3 separate regions of the Homo sapiens genome follow, and regions 1 and 2 are each linked to region 3. The links are contacts of gene promoters, found by promoter capture Hi-C in human tissues and cell types (Jung and others, 2019). All regions are on one chromosome and are shown on one strand. The core of a region is centred on a gene start or on the middle of the fragment in contact, and the rest is flanking DNA. Distances in the headings are between cores, read along the strand shown. Region 1 overlaps PIEZO2 (piezo type mechanosensitive ion channel component 2). Region 2 has its middle 8.7 kb from the start of APCDD1. Region 3 holds the start of CIDEA (cell death inducing DFFA like effector a).

Region 1 (3,442 bases), core at 882-3,381, 1.5 Mb before region 3:
AAATGATAGTATGCCAGAAACAGATTGTTAATTTAATGAAGAGAGAGAATCTGAAGCGAGTTTTACATTGGTGGAAGGAGTTAGGCTGACATACTACTTCCTTATTTTCCTAAGCTAGTCAATTCATCCTCTCGACTTTGGAGAAGTTAGCTACTCTTAAAATTGCAACCCATATCTTCTATACCAGTGCCACACACCAAATCTCAGGGAACACATTTGCTGTTCCTGCTTTGTCAGGACTCTCCATGTGAAATGTTATTAAATGTGGAAGTGATCGGCTGCTGCACAGTCGTCAGTATGTATTTGTTCTCTTCAGGGATGCATTTTATAAATGAAAAGATACCTTTATTAAGACAAGGAATTCGGTGGTTGCAGTGTGAGGTGGGACCACCTCAGAGTGAATCTTAAAGGTCTACATTGACACTGCTGCAATCTCATACGACAAGAAAACTACTTTCTAACAATTACTGCTATTAACAGAGTGAAACTCAAAGAGGGGAGGCTGTTTCCACAGCTGCTACTACAGCTACACAGCAGATGTCCTTAAGCAACGATGCCCCCAAACTGCCATGCCACAGGCAGGGTGCATTGAGGAGAGATCGTTCAATGAAAGAATCAGAGGAAGACACTGGAGTAAGCCTTTTGGAAGTAGGTCCACAAGGCTGATTTCTAGAAACTTGTAATGGGACAAGATGCAGCTGCGGACAAATGAGAAGGGCATCTCTGCATCCAACACTGCTCATTCCCTCTGACCTTAGAGCCACAAACTCCAGACCCTCTCTGGAGCAGTCTAACCTCATGAGCTTGTAATGGATGACAAAAAAAGAAAAAAAAAAAGAAATTATGTATCAGGCTGTCATTTACTAGTCTAGGGGTTTATTAACTATCTTGAGAAATTTCAGAGAATTGTACCTTGTATTGTAAAAAACTGTGTGCATAAAACATAGATAAAAATATTTTAAATGCATGAATAAAGTATACTGTTTCAAAAAGACACTTGTGTGAATCCTTTTACTTTTCTCTCTCTCTTTTTCTCATTTTTATGGTAACATTGTTTTTAGAGGCCATAGAGAAGAACGTTAAAAGACTTGGGTTCAAGTCTTCACCAGAAAACTTGCTAGCTAGGTGAGATGGGAAAGCTATGTAACCTATCTTTTAAGTCTCGGTTAGCTGAAACAGTAGTGCCTATTTATAGGAGGTTGTAAAAATTAAGGTGGTTTCTGTTAAGCAGTTAACACAGTGGTTAATTACACAGGAAACATTTTAAAATAAGGAGCCATCTTCTAATGGTAGATTTTCATATATTATGGTTTGATAATCTGCATCATAAATTCATTGTAAAGAAAAAGCAGAATTAGAAACATGCTTTTGTAAGAGCCTGCACAATGATGGATGATACGGAAGGTATTAAACTTAGACTATGATTCTGTCATCAGCGCCTTCTTTAACAGAACTTGGCTATTTTATAGAAGGCCATTCAGAAGAAAAAAAAGGAGCAAACATTTCTTCATCGGGAATCTGTTTCCCAATGGTCTCAGGGTTCTGTTTACTGGGCTTTCTGTGTGTAATCTCAACTACTGCATTCCCTGAGGAGTGGGAGCGGCAGAGGTGGTTCTGCACAAATGCAAGCTTTCGAGGCAGACCCAGCTGCGGTTGCTAGAAGAAACAGCTGTATGGACTCTCCGGGAAAGCCTGTGTATTTTAATTCAGCTTTTTTTTTCCTTCCTAGCAAATAAAAAGAAAATGGATCTTGATTTTCCAAAAACAAAATTTAAAAACCCACTCTAGTAAAAATACTCCTGGAAACTTCAGGCTAAAGAACTTATAAGACTTGTAATTCTTTACTGAACATCAGGCTTCAGGCTAAGGAACTTATAAGACTTATAATTCTTTACTGAATATCAGGTGCAAATTACCTAGTGGTCATATGCAGGATTTTGACTTTGGGACTCCAAATAATACGCATGATGATGAACAGGATTCCCGGAGAAGCCCCCTCCTCCACTGCCTTCAATCAGGCTGCTTTGGATGTCTTTCTCCACAGGAAGTGCATTTCTTCTCTTAGGGTTTTCTTTAACATTACTGATAACTTTGTTTCCTTGCTCTTATTCAGGCTCTGAGCTCTAACCTTCTCACTGACCATTAAGCAAAATGGCTCTCTCCTTTCATGTTCTAACGGAGCAGATGACAAGTATTTGTTTGTGTCTTCACTCACTCTACACTTCCACAGCTTTGTGCAACTCCCAATGTGTGTGTTTCTCCATTTGTGACTCTGTCATTTTATTCTAAGTATGGGTTCTGGGGACTTTCCCCTTGAAGACAGAATCCAGTCCTGCTCTACTCATCACCCTTACAAAATGTAGTACTGTGCCTGGGGTGCACTATAATTCACTGAATCTTGGGTGAAGAAATTTTATGCACTGGAGATACATCCTTATTTGAAACAGAAGAAACAAATTACTTGACAGGGACGCTCAAAGAGGGTTAATTCTGTACAAGAACCTGACTTTGAAAAGCTGCATAGTAAACTACTTTCCATTAAAGAAAATGGAAATTCTAGCATTGTAAAATCTCCTTAGTCTGAATGTCATTTGTTTTTATGATTCTAATTTGGAATATGTGGTAATATAAACTGCACTGACACTGTTATCATTAGACTATTAGCAGAAAGGTGACTTGCACCTGTGTAGTGTTTAATATAAGTAACATTTAAAGTAAAATAATTTTACTGTTTAAGATAAATTATTATCTAGAACTCAAAAGCACTCTCAGAAGATTGTATTCACATATAGGCACTTGGTTTGTGAATTGAATATTACATCTTAATTATGTGTGTTGGTAAAATGTATACTGTTTACTAGGTCAGTTGCAACTTAACCACAATTATCTATATTTTTAAAATGTTATCAAAGTGGCCTACTGTCCTCAATACACTACCCTACCTTACAACTTGTAAAGTCATGTCTAAATTTTAATCAACTCTTAAGTTGAATTGTAGGTATGCCCCTCTTTCAGCCCAGAACTAACATTTATAAACATTTTATTCTCCTTATAAAACACTGAACATAAAGAAATAATGAGAGAAAGCAAGCTTATATACTTTATTAAAGGATTCACCCTGTCATTCTAATGGATAATCAGCCCTACTCAACACTGCATACAGCATTTCAGAAGCACACATTATAAAATGAGGGACAGGCTTGTTTGATAACGTTTCCTTTGAGGCACAGCTCTGGCTGCTCTTTTTTTTTTTTTTTTTGAGAGGGAGTCGCTCTGTCGCCCAGGCTGGAGTGCAGTGGCACCATCCCGGCTCACTGCAAGCTCTGCCTCCCAGGTTCACGCCATTCTCCTCCCTTAGCCTCCCGAGTAGCTGGGACTACAGGCGCCCGCCACCACACCCAGCTAATTTTTTGTATATTTAGTAGAGACAGGGTTTCACCGT
Region 2 (3,400 bases), core at 883-3,382, 1.8 Mb before region 3:
AGGGACGAGCACTAGAAATCACAGATCCCCAGCTTGCTAGTGATGGAGAAATCACCACTAGGAAATGGAAGAGAGTGATCAAGACAAAGTGTGAGATAAAAAGTTGGTAGTCTTTGGTTACTGCCCTGCATGTGAAGTCTTTCTCAGTAATACCTTATATCCCCTCTCTCCCAGGGGAGAGTGAGGAGAAGGGAGGGAAAGGAAGGGGAAAGAAAGGGAGAGTGAGGGAGGGAACTGTATGTGAGAAGCAGACAATCCTAAAAATCCAACTAACAGGTGTGGTGGCGATCTGTAGACAAGTCCCACTCTTCCTTTTTGCTTTCACGTGGGAAAGAGAAAGGTTTTGCAACCTGATTAATGGCTCAGATAATTGAGATCCTGGATCTACATTACATAAAGTGGAAAACAGAATAGAACTAGATAACATTTACAAGTTAGAACAGAACCAAAAGACAACACTCAGTGACGTTACCAAATTCCCCACCCCCGGCTAAAATCAATAAATAAAACGACCACAGCTATAATGTAAATGAAAGAGAAATCTGGCTGGCCCAGGGCTCAAGATAAACACAGCAAAGCCAAGTCTCCACCACTCCCTCCAAACTCACACCCCAAGAGGGGGAGGGCGGTCTCTGAAACACAGGTCAGTGGTTCACCGGTGGTAAAGGTGACAGCGACACATCGTGAGTGCCATGGAATTCCACCTTTCCAGGTCTCTTCTGGCTCAGGGCTTCACTTGCAGTTTAAATGCAAAAATCCAGATAAAGGCTAATGCTTTTGAACTTACAAATTATTTATATTTTAGCATGAATGCATTTATAAGATCAATTCTTATTCTGTTAAGAAAGAAAGACAGAGGACATAAGAATACTCTGGTATCTTTTGGGAGGATGAGGGCAGAAAAAAGAAGCCCAAAGAGATGAATGTTGAGCCCTGCAAAGCAGAGCACAGCGCAGGGGACCTGGGAGTGAGAGAAGCTGGGAAGTATTTCTCACTGAGAGTCTTTCGTCTAGTCTGGAAGCCTTCTGTTCCTTCCTAATGAAAGTAGTGGTGCACTTAAGAACATGGTGTCTGAAATACAGTGGATGCTAAGTAAATATTCATTGAATGTATGAGTGACTCAAAGTAGACATGGAAAGCACATGTCCACGTTCCAAGCAATAGTCATAATAGGTGGCATAGAATGTGGGAGGACTTAAACGGAGGCAATCGGAGCTGCAGCCCCTTGGGCCACCCCACTTGACCATGGATGAAGCACATTCAGGAATCAGGCAGTGCATTAAGTACTTTCCATCATCCGCTTCCCTAACCCACCATAGACTCTAAGCAGCAACTCACATCGCTCTTAGGACCACTGGCTTGCACAAGGAGTCACAAGTGGCAAGTGATAGAATCAGAATTTTCATCCTGTTCCGACAAACCCCAAAGCCTGTACTCTTAACCACAGGTGATGCTGCCTCCCTTCTTATGGAAAAAGTGAAAATATATTATGATTCCTTCAACTCTTATCACCAGTGTTTGGCAAGACCTTAGAGATAACTCAGTAGATTCTCTTGGGAAATTCTAGAAAACCACTGGTTTTCAAATGAAGAGTGTATCTGCCGGCAGTAGTTCCCACACACATGTGACTAGACTTGTCACTGTAGAGATCTTAATTTTCAAAAATATACATGTGTAAGAGGAAGAATAAGATTTGGTTCTCAGTAAAGCTTTGTGGAACAAAAAAAGGTCTGACATGCTTCTCTCCTTACTGCTTGGCTCTCTGTATACGGCATTCTTCAAGGATTGTGCTGCAACAATTCTTTTCCTTATTCTTCTTTATTCTCAGATCTACCTATTCTCTGGCTGGTTGGAGAGAGATAATTTTGTTTTCAAATTATTTTGGTAATAGATGATTTCAGTTTTTGCTTCTCTAGAAGTCTCTGGCCACAGCCGTGCTTAACCAGCCACCTATCTCTTGGAGCTAACCTGGCCAGCAGCAGATAGAATACAGCATATTTGTCAGCATCACTTATTATCCAAGGTGAGGATTTAGGTCTTGGAGCTGGACAACACATAGGTGGATGTGTCCTCTGGTGGTAGTTGTAGTAACTCCTGACTGGAAGCACTTTATAGTTCCTCCATTCCAGCATCTTCTACACCCCAGGGGTCAGACCTGCATGAATGAATGCTTGGGTTCCATGGCAGGGATTTCTTTCTGGCACAGTGGGAGGTGAATGTGTGGGAGGGGGTAGGGGAGGGTCTTTAAAGCAAAGTTTTGTGCAGGTGATTGGTCAAGATTTAAAACCCAAGCTATTGAATTCAGTACAATAGGCTGGGTCAGCCGTCTTCAGATGGCTTTATAACAAGACGACCCACCTTGAAGAGTGTTTGCTTTCATGAGGTCTGTCTGCCACAGTGGCTTCCATGGAATTGGTGACAATGTGCACCAAGTTAATTTCAGCTTGGGGTGGGAATGGCTTCGTCTCTTTTCCATAAAGCATGAACAACTGCTGCCCTTATCGTCCCCTCCCTGTATTCTTGGAGGGCCACTAGTCTTAGCATACTCTGCACATCCAGCTATGCAGTGGCAAAGAACGTTTTCTGTACTTTGTTCTGCATTAAAATACAGGAAAGGCAGTTTGAGGACCTATAAAGTATGGCAGATTGCACACGGGAATGTGGCCTCTGATGTCTCTGCTTGTCTGTCACTCTCCCAGACAATCCAGGCCTGCTCTGCAACAAGAATAGATTCTTCTGGAATGTTTTCCCCATGGCTCACCCTCATGGAAGCACAAAGGCCATCCCACAGAGGGGCACAAAGGAAACAGCTATGACGAGCAAGGCCAACACAACACAAAACAACACCCACAAGTACCACAGGTAAGACTGACATTGCTTAGTTTACTGTGTTAAAAGACTGTATAATGGTTAGAAACCAGGGGCTTGTGGTGAAGTAGAAAATACTTGGATACCAGAACAGGAAAGCCTAACATATCTTTAGAAGCAGCAAAGGTGGAATTGATGCAATGAAGAAAGGAATTTGTGATGTGGTATACACATTTAACAGGAATCTGGCATACAATTAATTGAATACACATAATGTTTCATAAGGCCCTTGCTTTCCAAGTTTTTAACCATTATGAGAGATAAAATATGACCTTGAAGCACAGGAAGTGGAAGTGGAGGTGGAAGAGGCCCTAAAATGAGATGAGGAGACCTGGAATCTAAATAAGAGTTCATACTCAGGAGAAGGTCTGACTTCAAGGGGTCTCGGTTTCCTCGTAGCCCTAAACCCTCCGCTGAGACTCAAGGCTCTCTTCCACCCATCACGGGTGGACATCACCTCCGCAAGATGAAGAGTTCCACCTAAGTGCTGCTTGCATCTACTTCTACTGATGATTTTGGAGTTGCTCAACCC
Region 3 (3,144 bases), core at 22-2,521:
ACATTGGGGCTGTGAGTGGGAGGGGCAGTGAATGACCTCCTAAAGCTGTGTCCGCTCAGTGCCTCTGGGGGAAGCTGCCCCCTGTGAGCCTGGAGCTGGGTGTTCCCAGCAGGCGGAGTCCTTGACTCTGGAAGGCAATTGCCTTTGGCTTCAACAGTCCTGCAAGTCACAAGGCTTGTTGACCACGGTGACCCTTTCTGAGAGCCAGCGGAGGAAGAGGGCGGGCATAGGGTCAGGTCTTAAGAGATCAGGTCAGTCTGCTCAAACCAGGTGGGCTCAGGAGGAGCCGGCGAGGGTCCCGCTGCAGCTCCCGAAACGCTGTTTCCAGGCGGCAGTCAGCAGTTGGGCACGAGAGGATATCCTAGCAAGCCTCCATCCCAGAAAGTTACACCTCTTACTGCCCGAGTCCCACCCCTCAACACTGAGCCCACCTCTTCAGTCCTGTAGTGAGGGGTTCTGGGAACCCCTTGTAACTGCCCGCCTTCCTCGGAGGTCTCAGAGGCCCTAATTGCGTCTTCCGATGGGAACAACCATGAGAGCAGGGTGTGGACGGAAGTCCCCCAGCCCCAGCGGGGTTCACTCTTTGCCTCCTCACTCTGCGAGGGTCCCTTACTACAGCTAAAAGGCAATTCATGCAGTCCAAAGGCTCCTTTCCCCTCCCGTTCTGCATGCCCTTCTCACTGTCCCCAAATGCTCATGACATGGCCTTGAGAGCAGCGCAGCGGGCAGGAAGCCCAGGCGCCTCGGAGAACCTGAAGGGCTGCAGGTCCCGGTGTCTGCGGCAGCTTCCGCATCCCTGCAGGGAACCAGCGGCTCGCTGAGCCTGGGGCTGGGCTCTGGGGGACTCCAGAGCTGGAGGCAAGTGGCGCTCACATCCGTCTCCTCACCTGCCCCACCCGTGGCCTGGGTTTAAAATCCACATACCCGTCTTTCCGCGGCCAAAGTGATGCTGCCAGGATTGGTTATGACCCCAACTGCCCCGACCCCCAGAAGTGCAAAACGAACAGGCTGGCAAGTGACCAAAAGAGACCCGGGGAGCATCTGGGCTTCCAAGGTCCTCGGTACGGCCCAAGGCAGCGAAGGACGCGCGGCTCCAGGCTGCGGGAGCCAGGACGACCGGGGGCTCCCAGAGCGCGAAGTCGCGATCCTCGGCGGTGGAGAGCTCGTGCCAAAACGTCCTCCCCTGCGCCAGTCAGGCCTTCGCGGGGCTGGCAGGCGGGCGGGGGCGGGGCCGCCGCACTTTAAGAGGCTGTGCAGGCAGACAGACCTCCAGGCCCGCTAGGGGATCCGCGCCATGGAGGCCGCCCGGGACTATGCAGGAGCCCTCATCAGGCGAGTGCCCCGCGTCCCCCTGATTGCCGTGCGCTTCCAATCGCCTTGCGTTCGGTGGCCTCATATTCCCCTGTGCGCCTCTAGTACCGTACCCCGCTCCCTTCAGCCCCCTGCTCCCCGCATTCTCTTGCGCTCCGCGACCCCGCGCACACACCCATCCGCCCCACTGGTGCCCAAGCCGTCCAGCCGCGCCCGCGGGCAGAGCCCAATCCCGTCCCGCGCCTCCTCACCCTCTTGCAGCTGGGCACAGGTACCAGGTGTGGCTCTTGCGAGGTGCGCGGGCGTCTGCAAACCAGGTGACAGCTGGCGAGTGGCTGCATGCATCTCTGGCCGCTGCTGCAGTCGCGGGCGCAGAAGAGGGTCCGGTCCCAGGAACCCCGAGCAAAGCTTCCGCGATGCGAGGGGACCGGGCTTCTGGGGGTCCTGGAAATCACAACGGGAGCTGGGCGCGGGAGGGGCCCAGGCTTGGCCCCTCCTGGAAGCGCGGGCTCTGGTCTCCGAGGGGAGGCCCCAACCGTCCGGCGGAGCCCTCCAGGTTGGTGGTGCTGGGAGAAGCGCTCCTCCTTGCCTCCGGGTCCAAGGGCGGAGACGCTGCCTGGGGAGCAGGGGGGACAAGGGGCGGGTGGACCCTGAGGAGTCTTCCCTGCGCTTCGCACCCGCTCGTGGTCGAACAGGCAGCATTGGCTATTTTCCTGCTTGGGTTAATATTCATATCCCAACAGACCCAAGCCAATTCTTGGTAAAATCCTAAGTCATTGCGTGGCAGCAACTGTAAAGTAAGGTCTAAGAGGGAGATCGTGTTTCTCTGAAGATCAAGTACCTGGAAAAGGATAGAGAACCATTTGCGGGCTTGAAGGTGCAGGCGTTCAGCGGCGCCGGGTCCCACTGTGTGTGCTACGTGTGGCGGGCAGAGAGACTACATGTGTGAAAGGGAGCGGTCCGGCTACGAAACGCAATCTATGAGCTTCCAATCCCGGGTTCTTAAATGGGAGCTGTTGTAGACACTGCAGGTTAGAAGCATCTTTCTCTTTAAAAATAAGCCCACAGTACAAGTCGGGGCGGTGGCAGGGGGACGCTGAGAAACACCTGCTTCGTGTATGGTCATTAACACGCTTAGGCCTAAAGGTCAGGGCCCTGTATCTTTTGCGTTCTTCCAGAACCATCCACACCACAGTCCCACTTCCAGGAGGGGAGGTCTTAGCAGTTTGGAATGCGTCCTTCCAACCACTTTTCCAGTGAATTCACAACACACCCACTGTTCCTCCGGAGCATGGGGGAAGGAGGTGTGGGCTGACTCGCACTAACCAATCCTGGTTGGCCTCTGAGCAGGATTCAGGCTGAGCCTGTCCCTGCCTCTGACTATTATAACAGCTCACCAAAATCCAAAATGCATCTGTGTGGGGTCTCTGTGAGGTCGTGTGAAGTGGAAGTGACTTGCTTATGAGCTGTTGACAAATGAAACATTGGGAAACCTTGAGTCTCCTAGGACACATTCCTTCCAGCTTGGCTCATCCCAGGAGTGAATGACTCTACCTGTTATGGACAAGCTGTTGCTGCAGTTCTTTGAAATCTACCTGCTTCCAGGCTGAACTACTGTCATTCTGTGAAATCTACCTGCTCCCAGGCTGAACTACTGTCATTCTGTGAAATCTACCTGCTCCCAGGCTGGACTACTGTCATTCTGTGAAATCTACCTGTTACCAAACTAAACTGGAAGAAAACAATCTGTAATTCTTGTTGAAGGGAAAACACCTTTTCTTCCCTGCCCCTCTCTAAAACCCTGTCCGGGCAAAAGAGCCAGAGGCCAGGTCC

Evidence for each region. The method cuts DNA at HindIII sites, captures the fragments that hold promoters and counts their contacts. A contact is called where the count stands out against the background at its distance.
Region 1: a fragment that was not itself captured here is called in contact with the fragment with the promoter of CIDEA in region 3 in 1 of the 25 tissues and cell types used here (dorsolateral prefrontal cortex).
Region 2: a contact is called between a fragment that was not itself captured here and the fragment with the promoter of CIDEA in region 3, in 1 of the 25 tissues and cell types used here (lymphoblastoid cells).

What each region holds. Positions count from the first base shown.
Region 1 is chr18:10,775,094-10,778,535 of GRCh38, forward strand. The region is part of intron 18 of PIEZO2 (piezo type mechanosensitive ion channel component 2); the gene reads right to left. Among named protein-coding and RNA genes, the nearest start is that of MIR6788, 17 kb to the left of the region's middle. The HindIII fragment of the contact is 4,204 bases long and covers 30-3,442 here.
Region 2 is chr18:10,444,271-10,447,670 of GRCh38, forward strand. No RefSeq gene overlaps it. Among named protein-coding and RNA genes, the nearest start is that of APCDD1, 8.7 kb to the right of the region's middle. The HindIII fragment of the contact is 8,236 bases long and covers 1-3,400 here.
Region 3 is chr18:12,253,090-12,256,233 of GRCh38, forward strand. CIDEA (cell death inducing DFFA like effector a) reads left to right here and starts at 1,272. Exons shown (of 5, transcript NM_001279.4): 1 at 1,272-1,332. The coding sequence starts at 1,295. It overlaps LOC105371996 (a long non-coding RNA gene), which reads left to right and starts at 1,924. Exons shown (of 2, transcript XR_935158.3): 1 at 1,924-2,342; 2 at 2,490-3,144. RefSeq lists an enhancer at 408-1,014. The HindIII fragment of the contact is 10,266 bases long and covers 1-2,628 here.